2 separate regions of the Homo sapiens genome follow, and region 1 is linked to region 2. The links are contacts of gene promoters, found by promoter capture Hi-C in human tissues and cell types (Jung and others, 2019). All regions are on one chromosome and are shown on one strand. The core of a region is centred on a gene start or on the middle of the fragment in contact, and the rest is flanking DNA. Distances in the headings are between cores, read along the strand shown.

The links. The method cuts DNA at HindIII sites, captures the fragments that hold promoters and counts their contacts. A contact is called where the count stands out against the background at its distance.
Region 1: a fragment that was not itself captured here is called in contact with the fragment with the promoter of SLC45A1 in region 2 in 1 of the 25 tissues and cell types used here (adrenal gland).

What each region holds. Positions count from the first base shown.
Region 1 is chr1:8,693,574-8,699,577 of GRCh38, forward strand. The region is part of intron 1 of RERE (arginine-glutamic acid dipeptide repeats); the gene reads right to left. Among named protein-coding and RNA genes, the nearest start is that of RERE, 120 kb to the right of the region's middle. The HindIII fragment of the contact is 5,747 bases long and covers 402-6,004 here.
Region 2 is chr1:8,315,292-8,320,936 of GRCh38, forward strand. SLC45A1 (solute carrier family 45 member 1) reads left to right here and starts at 2,823. Exons shown (of 9, transcript NM_001080397.3): 1 at 2,823-2,895. RefSeq lists a silencer at 2,653-2,932. The HindIII fragment of the contact is 6,823 bases long and covers 1-5,645 here.

The DNA.
Region 1 (6,004 bases), core at 2,025-4,524, 380 kb after region 2:
CCAGGGGCTTGGGGGCAGAGAGGGAGGGATGAATAGGGAGAACATAGGGCATGTTTAGAGCAGTAAAGACTCTTCTATATGATATTGTAATGGTAGATGCATGTTATGAAACATTTCAAAACCCATGGAATGTATAACACCAAGAGTGAACCTTAACATACACTATAGACTTTAGTTATAAATAATGTATCAATATTGGCTCATCAACAATAACAATGTACCAAACTAATTCAAGATGTTAATAGGGGAAACTGGGAGTTAGGGGGGATGCGGGAACTCTGTACTTTCTACTCAATTTATCTGCAAACCCAAAACCATTCTAAAAACTAGTCTACTGATTTAATGTTTTAAAATTTTTTAATGTTTTAATCTACCATATAAAATAAAATGCTACTTATCTAAATGCTTAAATGTTAGGCCTGTTAGCAAAACTGAACAACACCAATTTTCTTTCCCAAAAAAAAAAAAAAAAAAGGCCAGATTGCTTTAATCCTTACATTTTCCGCACTTTTAGTTCTCCTTTTCCATTCAAAGAGCCAGGAAGTGCTAGCCAGAGCAATCAGGCAACAGAAAGAAATAAAAGGCATCCAAACAGGAAAAGAAGAAGTCAAGCTACTGCTCTTTGCTGGCAATATGATTCTATACCTAGAAAACCCTGAAGACGCCATCAAAAGACTCCTGGTACAATAAACAACTTCAGTAAAAGTTTCAGGATACAAAGTCAATGTACAAAACTCAGCAGTATGTCTATACACCAATAATGTTGAAGCTGAGAGCCAATCCAGAATGCAATCCTATTTATAATAGCCATAAAGAAAGAAAATAACTAGGAATACACCTAACCAAGGAGGGGGAAAATCTCTGCAAAGAGAACTAAAACACACTGCTAGAAGAAATGACAGGTGGGCTGGGCGGGGTGGCTCACGCTTGTAATCCAAGCACTTTGGGAGGTTGAGGCGGGCAGATCACAAGGTCAGGAATTCAAGACCAGCCTGATCAATATGGTGAAACCCCATCTCTACTAAAAATACAAAAATTAGCCGGGCGTGGTGGCACATGCCTGTAGTTCCAGCTACTCGGGAGACTGAGGCAGGAGAATCATTTAAACCCGGGAGGCAGAGGTTGAAATGAGCCAAGATCATACCTCTGCATTCACGGCTGGGTGACAAAGCGAGACTCTATCTCAAAAAAAAAAGAAATGACAGATGACACAAATGGAAAAACATTTGATGCTCATAGATTGGAAGAATCATTAAAATGACCACACTTTCCTAAGCAATCTACAGATTTAATGCTATTCCTATCAAACTACTAATGTCATTTTTCACAGAATTAAACAAAGTAATTCTAAAATTCATATGAAACCAAAAAAAGTACCCAAAGAGCCAAAGAAATCCTAAGGGGGGGGGGGGAATGCTGGCAGCATCACATTATCCAACTTCAAGCTATACTATAAGGCTACGGTAATCAAAACAGGAGGGTACAGGTACAAAAACAGACACATAGACCAATGAAACAGAATAGAGAACCTACAAATAAAGTCATAAACCTACAGCCATCTGATCTTTGACAATGCTGACAAAAACAAGCAATGGGTAAAGGACTGCCTATTCAAAAAATGGTGCTGGGATAGCTAGCTAGCCATATGCAGAACTGGACCGCTACCTTTTCCCATATATAAACATCAACTCAAGGTGGATTAAATATTTAAATGCAAGACCACAAACTGTAAAAATCCCAGAAGAAAACCTAAAAAACACCATTCCGACCCTTGGCTTTAGGAAATAATTTATGACTAAGTCCTCAAAAGCAACTGCAACAAAAACAAAAATTGACAACTGGGACCTAATTAAACTAAAGAGCTTCTGCACAGCAAAAGAAACTATCAACAAAGGGCCAGGCATGGTAGCTCATGCCTATAATCCCAGCATTTTGGGAGGCCCAGGGGGGCGGATCACCTGAGGTCAGCAGTTTGAGATCTGCCTGAACAACATGGTGAAGCTCCATTTCTACTAAAAAAAAAAAAAAAAAAAAAAAAAAAGCCAGGCATGGTAGTGAGCGCCTGTAATCCCAGCTACTTGGGAGGCTGAGGCAGAGAATCACTTGAACCTGGGAGGTGGAGGTTGCAGCGAGCTGAGATCACGCCACTGCACTCCAGTCTGGGTAACAGGGTGAGACTCCAACTCAAAAAAACAAAACTGTCAACAAAGTAAACAGACAACCTACAAAATAGCAGAAAATATTTAAATATCATGCATCTGACAAAGGTCTAATACCCAGAATCTATAAGGAACTTTAACAATACAACAAGCAGAAAACAAATAACCCCATTACAAACTAAGCAAAAGGCATTAACAGACATTCCTCAAAAGAAGACATACAAGTGGCCAACAAATATGATAAAATGTTTAACATCATTCATCATCAGAGAGATGCAAATCAAAACCACAATGAAATATCGTCTCACGCCAGTCAGAATGGCTATTATTAAAAAGCCAAAAAACAACAGACACTGGTGAGGCTGTGGATAAAAGGGAACAGTTATACACTGTTGGTGGGAACATAAATTGGTTCAGCCACTGTGGAAAGCAGTTTGGAGATTTCCCATTACCAGGTATACATGCAAAAGAAATTAAATCGTTCTACCAAAAATACACATGCACTCGTATGTTCATCACAGCGCTATACACAATACCAAAGACATGGAATCAACCTAGGAACCCACCAATGATGGACTGATAAAGAAAATGTGGTACAGGCTGGGTACGGTAGCTCGCGTCTGTAATCCCAGCACTATGGGAGGCAGAGGTGAGCAGATCACCCGAGCTCAAGAGTTGGGAGACTAGCCAGGGCAACATGGTAAAACCCCATCTCTACTAAAAAGATAAAAATTAGCCAGGTGTGGTGGCACACATCTGTAGTCCCAGCTACTCAGGAGGCTGAGGCAAAAGAATCGCTTGCACCCGCAAGGTGGAGGTTGCAATGAGCTGAGATTGTGCCACTGAACTCCTGCCTAGGCAACAGAGTGAGACACTCTCACAAATAAACGAACAAGGCTGGGCGCGGTGGTTCACGCCTGTAATCCCAGCACTTTGGGAGGCTGAGGCGAGTGGATTACCTGAGGTCAGGAGTTCGAGACCAGCCTGGCCAACACGGTGAAACCCCATCTCTACTAAAAATACAAAAATTAGCAGGGCATGGTGGCAGGCGCCTGTAGTCCCAGCTACTCAGGAGGCTGAGGCAGGAGTATAGCTTGAACCCAGGAGGCAGAGATTATAGAGAGCTGAGATTGCGCCACTGCACTCCAGCCTCGGCAACAGAGCAAGACTCCATCTCAAAAATAAAAAATAAAATAAAAACAGTTGAAATTATCAAAAAAAAAAAGTAAATAAAATGTAATGGAGGTACTAGTGAAAAAAATAATAAGATCCAAACTCAAATTGCTCCTGCACCCAACACACTTAAGAGTAAATACTGTTAAGAGTCCTTTCCATGAACATCTAACATATTGAGAAAGGTGAATATTTCATTACTGAACATTTACTCTAACCTATGTTAAGAATTATGATCTGTGGAAAGAGCACAGGCTAAGGAAGCTGCCTAGGTAAATAGCCAAAAAACATACACATAAGATGAAAACTTGTCTGCGTCATTTTCCTACCACTCAAAAAAGAAGGTAACAGTAAGAAATAAACAGCAAAAACAAAAAGAAAAAATTGTTCAAATGTTCAATCTAGATATAGGTTTTTCTGTATAATTTAATCAATTAATAAATAAATACACATGTATCTTTCTTCCCCCAACCACACCCCCCCCACACAACTTTTTTTTTTTTTTGAGACGGAGTCTCACTCTGTCCCCCAGGCTGGAGTGCAGTGGCGTGATCTCAGCTCACTGCAAGCTCCGCCTCCCAGGTTCACGTCATTCTCCTGCCTCCGCCTACCGAGTAGCTGGGACTACAGGCACCCGCCAACACACCCGGCTAATTTTTTGTATTTTTACAAAATGTTTTTCACCATGTTAGCCAGGACGGTCTCGATCTCCTGACCTCGTGATCCGCCGCCTCGGCCTCCCAAAGTGCTGGGATTACAGGCGCGAGCCACCACACCCAACCTACCACACACAACTTTCTAAAGTTCCTGGATAATGTTCTAAACTCTTTTTCTATGTTTTACATGTAACTTATGCAAGCCATTCACTTTACTAAGCAAATGAACAGTAGTGTCTGTGGCCAAAAATAATAAGACTTAAAATTTTGAGTCCTTCCAAAAGAACTTGTATTAAATCTTTGGAATAGAAAAAAAAAGTTCATATTAGGGAGTAGATCTGGGTATTGAAAGGCCTGTCTTTTTTTGTTGGTAATGCCAAAGAATGTCATCACACAAGACTCACCTTATAATATTATTTATGTATAAGTTATCAATTACATATATTTAACATTTTAAGTGAAAGCAAGTTTATTAAGAAAGCAAAGGAATAAAGAACGGCTATTCCTTAGGCAGAGTAGCCTATATTTAACATTTTTTAAATGTTTAAAATTATAAAGCTGGTGAGTAAAACAAAAACATCTTTGAGTGATACAGATCGGCAGAATTTCCCCAGCCTCATTCCTGAGAGACCACCACATAAAAATAACTTGGTTATCTGCTTCTGTATGTAAACTCAGGTTGTTTGTGCAAAACATAAACTGCCCCAACTAAGAAATCCTGAAGAACATGCAAAAGGAGGTACTTTCACTGTCATTTTATTAAAAGGCACACAAGTCACTACTGCTGAATATACCACTGTTTCTACCCAGCTATTTTAAAATTATTGGTAGATAATGTGGTGAGCTACTGGTAAATACAGCTGTGAACACAGCAGCACACACCATCTGGAGGCTTTTGACTTAAGCGATTTTTCAAATGCACAGTATATTTACACTCTTTTGTTCCTTTGAAGCCCACCAGTCACATATAAATGGACCCTTTCTTAAAACTACAACTACAAAAGCTCATTCATCTTGTGGAAAACAAGATATGAGAAACAAATCTAATTGTTCAGCTTTAGAACAAGTGATTATTTCAAATCATTAACAGCATAAATACTTTACTTTTTCTATTTTTATTTTTTTTAATAGATAGAGACAGGGTCTCGCTATGTTGCCAAGGCTAGTCTTGAACTTCTGGACTCCAGAGATCGAGATCTTCCCAATAGGGCCTCTCAAAATGCTAGGATTACAGACGTGAGCCACTGCACCTGGCCCCAACACTTTACTTTTATAATGATCTCCCATACTTACCCATTATATTCTTATTATCTTAACAAGAAGCTTCTGATTAATACTCTAAAATTAAATGTTTTCTTCTTTTTTGTTTTTCAATGAGACAGGGTCTTGCCCTGTCACTCTGGCTGGAGTGCAGTGGTGCAATCATGGCTCACTAACCTGCTCAGAAATTATGTTTGTAAGTTTCACGAATCATCATGCTCATTTTTATTTGTTTTGTCCTCCTCCACTGGAAAATAAATGCTATGAGAACAGAGACTTCATCTTTTTTGTATCTTCAGCAACTAAAACAGTACCTAGTACATAATTAGTGCTCACTATGTTAACTATTCACTGTTTTCCCATGCTAAGCATGGTCCTAAAGCATTTCGTAAACCCTCTAGGTAGACTCATTATTTTCTGGTATGAGAAAACAGTCACAGAGGTTAAATAACTTACCCCAGGTATCACAGTGAGTAAGTGGTAAACTAAGAATAGAACTCAAACTCAGACAGCCTAACTATTTACCACTACGCTGTACTGAATAAATTAATGAATTACACCAGAGTTCAATGATAACATTAAAAATTGAGTAAAATTATGCTAATTTTCCTATTGACTAAGCATCAACATTATTCTGTTTTATTACAAATATTTAAGTATGTCAACTATTTCATGGATTAATTAGATTTTAGAGGGAAAGTCTAAGACCCCAATCATCATTAATATGTGGAATTGGATAACAACCTGGAAAAAGAC
Region 2 (5,645 bases), core at 1,573-4,072:
GGAGGGGCTAAAAAGCAAAAGCTCTAGCCTTAGAAGGTTCTCACTTTGGAAGTTTAAAAAAGGTCAAAGGAATTTTCAAAATCCCTTTCTTTCTCAACAATGCTTAGATTTCAAACCTCTTCTCTTGTTGCAAAATCCCGTTGTGAACATCAGAACCTCGAGATGATCTTTAAGTTTTCTCAGCATTCCCCATCTTCTCTCCCCTCTGCAAGCAGCTAAAAGTTACAGAAGCAGTTGAAGCCAGCAACTCCCCACCCCCATCTCCTCCTCTCCTGGGGACAGGGGCCCCATCTCTCAGCCCTGTTGTGGGTTGGGTGTGGCCGGTGTGGCTGTGTGGCAGGGTCCTAGCCAATGGGATTCGAGTGGAACGTGGGCCTCCTGCACACCTGGCCCCGTGGGCAGGCACCACCTGGGCTCCTCCCTCAGTGCACCAGGGCAGAGCAAGATGGAGGCAACCGGGATCCCTGAATGGCTTCACAGAGGTCCCCACCCATCAGGCACACTTCTGCCAACCTCATGTGGAAGTAAGCTTCTATTGCATTAAGTCCCTGAGGTGCTGAAGCTCATCAGTTGATGGCAGGCCACTTGCATGCAAAATAGAAAAGGACATCGGTATTTTTTTCAAGCTGTTACCCTGTTATAGAGATAAAAGAAGCCAGAACCAGCCCCCTCCAGTGGCTCCTTCTCTTCAGCCTGGGCAGGATCTGTTGAAATTCCCATGGTGTCCTCTGGGGCCCTCTGCCCTGCGCCTCTCCCTGGCAGTGCGAGGTCCACAGTTCACCTGCAATTAGCTCCCATGTGCAGGGGACTCATAAAGGAGCATCTTTGAGCTCCAGACCCAAGTGTCTGGTGGCCTAGAGGCTGCGAAGGCCCTCAAGCTCAGCATATCCCAAAGCAAACCTATGGCATTCACTCCAGCACACACCTGCTTTGGCCTCCATGAATCCACTCTCTTCCCTCATCGCTCAAGCTAGAAACTTCTTAGCACCACCCTCGCTGTTCCTGTACCCCCCCACCTTCAGTCAATCATGGAGTCCTAAGTCCCCGGCCAGTCCATCACCTCTCTCCCTCTACCAACACCCCCAACTCTCCCACCTGTGCCACCCGGTACGCCCATGTGGTCCCCTGGTTCCCTCCAATCTGTTTTCACTCTGAGCTTTATGATCTTTGCTAACTGTGAATAGGATTCATGCCATCCACTCCCCTACATAAAACCTTTCTAGGCTTCTCTTTGCTCTTAGAAACTGGCAACTGCCTAAGAGGCCACACCTGGGCCTGTCCCACCTCCCCAGCCCTCACCTCCTTCCCAGGCCTCTGCATCCCTGTCCCCCTCCACTTCCTTTGCAGTGTGCCTCCAGGCCCTCTCCCCTCCGGAGCTCTGCCAGTGCAGAGCTCTCTGAGCCCTCTGTGTGGGACATGCTGTTCTCTCTACTTGGCCTGGTAGGGCTCCTTGAGGAGCCCTCGACCCTCCCAATGGGGTGGAATCCGCCGCGGTAAACTTCCACAGGGCCCCGTGCCCCCACTCTGCAGCGCTTCCCTGGGGTTATTATTCCACTACCAGCTGCATAATTATTTCATCCGTAATTATTGGACTCAGCCCAGCTCACTTCTGCCCCTGGCCTTTGCACTTGCTCTTCCCAGTGCCTGGCGTGACCTTCCCCACACGTCAGTCTGGCTGGCCCCCCTAGCTCCTCAGGTCCTTCTTTTCTTTTTGAGATGGAGTCTCACTCTGTGGCCCAGGCTGGAGTGCAGTGGCACGATCTCAGCTCACTGCAACCCCTGCCTCCCAGGTTCAAGCGATTCTCCTGCCTCAGCTGAGTAGCTGAGATTACAGGCACCCAGCACCACGTGTGGCTAATTTTTATATTTTTAGTAGAGATGGGGGTTTTGCCATGTTGGCCAGGCTGGTCTCGAACTCCAGACCTCAGGTGATCTGCCCCTCTCGGCCTCCCAGAGCGCAGGGATTACAGGTGTGAGCCACCGTGCCCGGCCTGCTCCGCAAATCCTCCTTCTAGTGTCACCTTCCAGGTGAGGACTCGCCAACAACCTGATAGAAACCTGCAAGGCCAGCGCCTCTGCAGCCCCACACTCCCTAACCCCTTCTCTAGGGCATTGCCATCTTCTGACATACCATTTATTTTATGTCTTGTTTAATGTGTGTGTGTCTCTCTCTTAAATGTCATGCAGCCGGGTGCGGTGGCTCACACCTGTACTTTGGGAGGCCGAGGCAGAAGGATCACTTGAGCCCAGGAGTCGAGACCAGCCTGGGCAACATAGCAAGGCCCTGCCTCTCTGTATTTTAAAAAATGAAGTAAATAATAAATACATAAAGTATTTATGTATTTACTTACATTACAAAGTTCCCCCAGGGGCGGGAACTTTGCCTTGTTCTTGCGGCATCCCCAGTGCCTTGGACAGCTCCGGGCCCAGAGTCGCGACGCCTCCAGCAGGCCCGGCTGCCCCACTGCGCACATGGGCACAGGCTTGGCACACGCACTGCGGCATTCACGTATCCGCGAACACATGGGTATCTATTTATACATGAAGACACGAAAATGTATTTATTTCTTTTAAAATCAGAAGAAAACGGTGAGAACTGTGAGGCCGGGGGGACGTTTTCCTCCGGGATCCTGGCAGATCCTGCAGACCGCGCCGTCGTGCGCGAAGCACCGGGACGGGCCTCCCGCGGGAAGGGCCCAGGAGGACACCGGGCTCCCCTCCCGCCCGCGGGGCCCCAGACGCGGCGCCGCTTTAAGGCTCCGGGCCCCGCGCGGATGCGGAGGCTGCGGCCGTGACGTCAGCGCCCCGCCCCGGGTGATGCTGCAGCAGCCGGGACCGCGGCCGGGCAGGCAGCAGCCCAGCGGGGACAGGGATGCCTGCCGTCTCCACCCACAGGTACCACCGTCTCCTCCGCGCCCTCCGCCCGCTCTCTGGCTCCGTGCCTGCCGGGGCGCCGCGCCCTGGGCCCCGGGGTAGTCAGGGCGCCGAGACCGGGACCCGAGGCCGGCACGGAGACCTTTGTTCCTCGTGGAAGTCTCATGAATTGCAGAGTCCACGGAGCTCCCCCGTCTCGCCCCTCCGAGGGCAGGAGCCTCGGGCCCAGGGGAGGGTGCCGGCCAGATGGCAGGTGCTCTCATCCTTGCTGGCAAGGGGAGGAGACCCCGGCCTTGGCCCCAGCTCCTGATGCGCTCCTTGAGCCGGAGGCCTGGTCCCTAGTCACCTGGGCAGGTGTCATCCGCTCCCGGCTCACCTCTTGCGTGGGGCTGAGCCCTCTTGTTGACCAGGGGCCTGGCAACGCCCCTCAGCATCCCAGGGTTACTTAGCGAGGGCACCGAGGACTCCCCTTTCCCGAGCGAGTCAGCACCAAGGGGAACGCGCTGAGGTGGAAGCCGTTCAGCTCCTTCTGCCCTCGACAATCAGCAACTTCTCTAATTATTTCTAGAGTGACAGCCGTGCATGTTTTTCAGCTCTTACAGGGAAGCAGAGTCAGGGGCGGAGGAAAGCCACGTTCAGGCTGCACCTGGCCTGGGCTTTTGGGAAAAGTTGGCCCTGGAGTAGGGGTCAAGCTGCCGGAGATGCAAAGTGGGAAACGGCCACGATTCAGTAACTAGCCTATTAAGTGCACCCTCCCAAGTCCGTAGAGCACCTTCCTGGTCCTGGAGGACCTCACTGAAGAATTTTGAGAATGGGTAGAAAGAAGCATGAGGGGTCGGGCGCGGTGGCTCATGCCTGTAATCCCAGCACTTTGGGAGGCTGAGTCGGGTGGATCACCTGAGGTCAGGAGTTCAAGACCAGCCTGGCCAACATGGTGAAACCCCATCTCTACTAAAAATACAAAATTAGCCGGGCGTGGTGGCACATGCCTGTAATCCCAGCTACTTGGGAAGCTGAGGCAGGAGAATCGCTTGAACCCAGGAGGCGGAGGTTGCAGTGAACCCAGATCATGCCACTGCACTCTAGTCTGGGCGATAGAGTGAGACTCCGTCTCAAATAAACAAATAAGCAAATACGCCCTAGGAAGGGAGGTGGCCCAAGGCAACCCCGTGGGGGGAGCTCATTTTCATAACGAGAAGAAAGAAATGAGGAAATGGTTTCCGCTCGTAGTAGGATCATTGTAAGCATTCAAACTACATTGACATTGATTACTTTTATTAATCATTTGCCGCTTAAACTTCCCACAACACAGTTTGAGGAATCTGTTACTTTAAGCATCCTCTGTACTCTGGAAGCACAGTGGACCCCTTGCATAGCCTTCGGGGGATCCAGGGAGATGAGTGGATTTCCTTTTGACCGAGTAAATGGTCATATGGTACAGTAAAGATGGTCTGGCGAATGTTTGTATTTGTGCATGAAAATTAGATTTTATGATCTTAAATTCCACTTTCACCCATTTTTATGGGAACCTTAAAAATGGATTTTTGTTGTTGTTGTTGTTGTTTTTTGAGACAAGAGTCTCACTCTGTTGCCCAGGCTGGAGTGCAGTGGTGCGATCTCAGCTCGCTACAACCTCCACCTCCTGGGTTCAAGCGATTCTCCTGCCTCAGCCTCCGGAGTAGCTGGGATTACAGGCACTCGCCACCATGCCCAGCTAATTTTTTGTATTTTTAGTAGAGACGGGGTTTCTCCATGTTGGCCAGGCTGGTCTCGAACTCCTGAGCTCAGGTGATCCACCCACCTCGGCCTCCCAAAGTGCTGGCATTACAGGCGTCAGCCACTGTGCCCGGTCTCAAAAATGAGTTTCTAAAATTCTTCTTATGATAAACATTTGTGAACAGTTTTTACTAAATGTAGTTTTAATAAAAATGGTAATGCTGATCCCCAGATTTGAAGATGAATCCTTAGTAAAGACTTCTTCTGAGCCAGGATTAAGCTAGGTTTAATTCTGGTTCAGATGCTAGAGAGAAGTTCATTGAGTGTGTGAGGATCTCCCTTCTGCTAGGACAGGCTGCAGTGGGGTGTGGCGGAGGTGGCAGTAGAGTTGTCCTCTTGCAGGTAGAGAAGTGGGCCGTCTACATAGTCCACTTTAAATAAGGTCAAAGAGGCTCCTCTTTTCAAAAAGACACTTCAGGGGCTGGGAATGGTGGCTCATGCCTGTAATTCCAACACTTTGGGAAGCCAAGGCAGGTGGATCACTTGAGCCCAGGAGTTTGAGGCCAGCCTGGGCAACATGGCGAAACCCCATCTCTACAAAAAAATACAAGAATTAGCCTGGTGTGGTGGTGTGCACCTGTAGTTCCAGCTATTTGGGAGGCTGAGGTGAGAGGATCACCTGAGCCCAGGGAGGTTGAGGCTGCACTGAGCGATGATGACTGCACTCCAGCCTGGGCTAGATAGAGGGAGACTCTGTCTGTCTGTCTGTCTGTCTGTCTCTCTCTCTCTCTCTCTGTTTCTCTCTCTCTCTACACACACACACACACACACACACACACACACACACACACACCTGCCATATGCTGTTTAAAGCTGAAGTTTTTCCAAACTGGGCCACAGTTCTTCATTCCAAATTTAAAGGGAAGGTTTCTAATGCACTTAAGTTCACATTATGGTTAAAATGCTGATTAGAAAGAGTGGGAGATATGCCTGTGTGCCTGCAGGTGGGGAGAGGCTGGGCAGAGGGACAGAAAGGGAGATGGCCACTGAGAGCA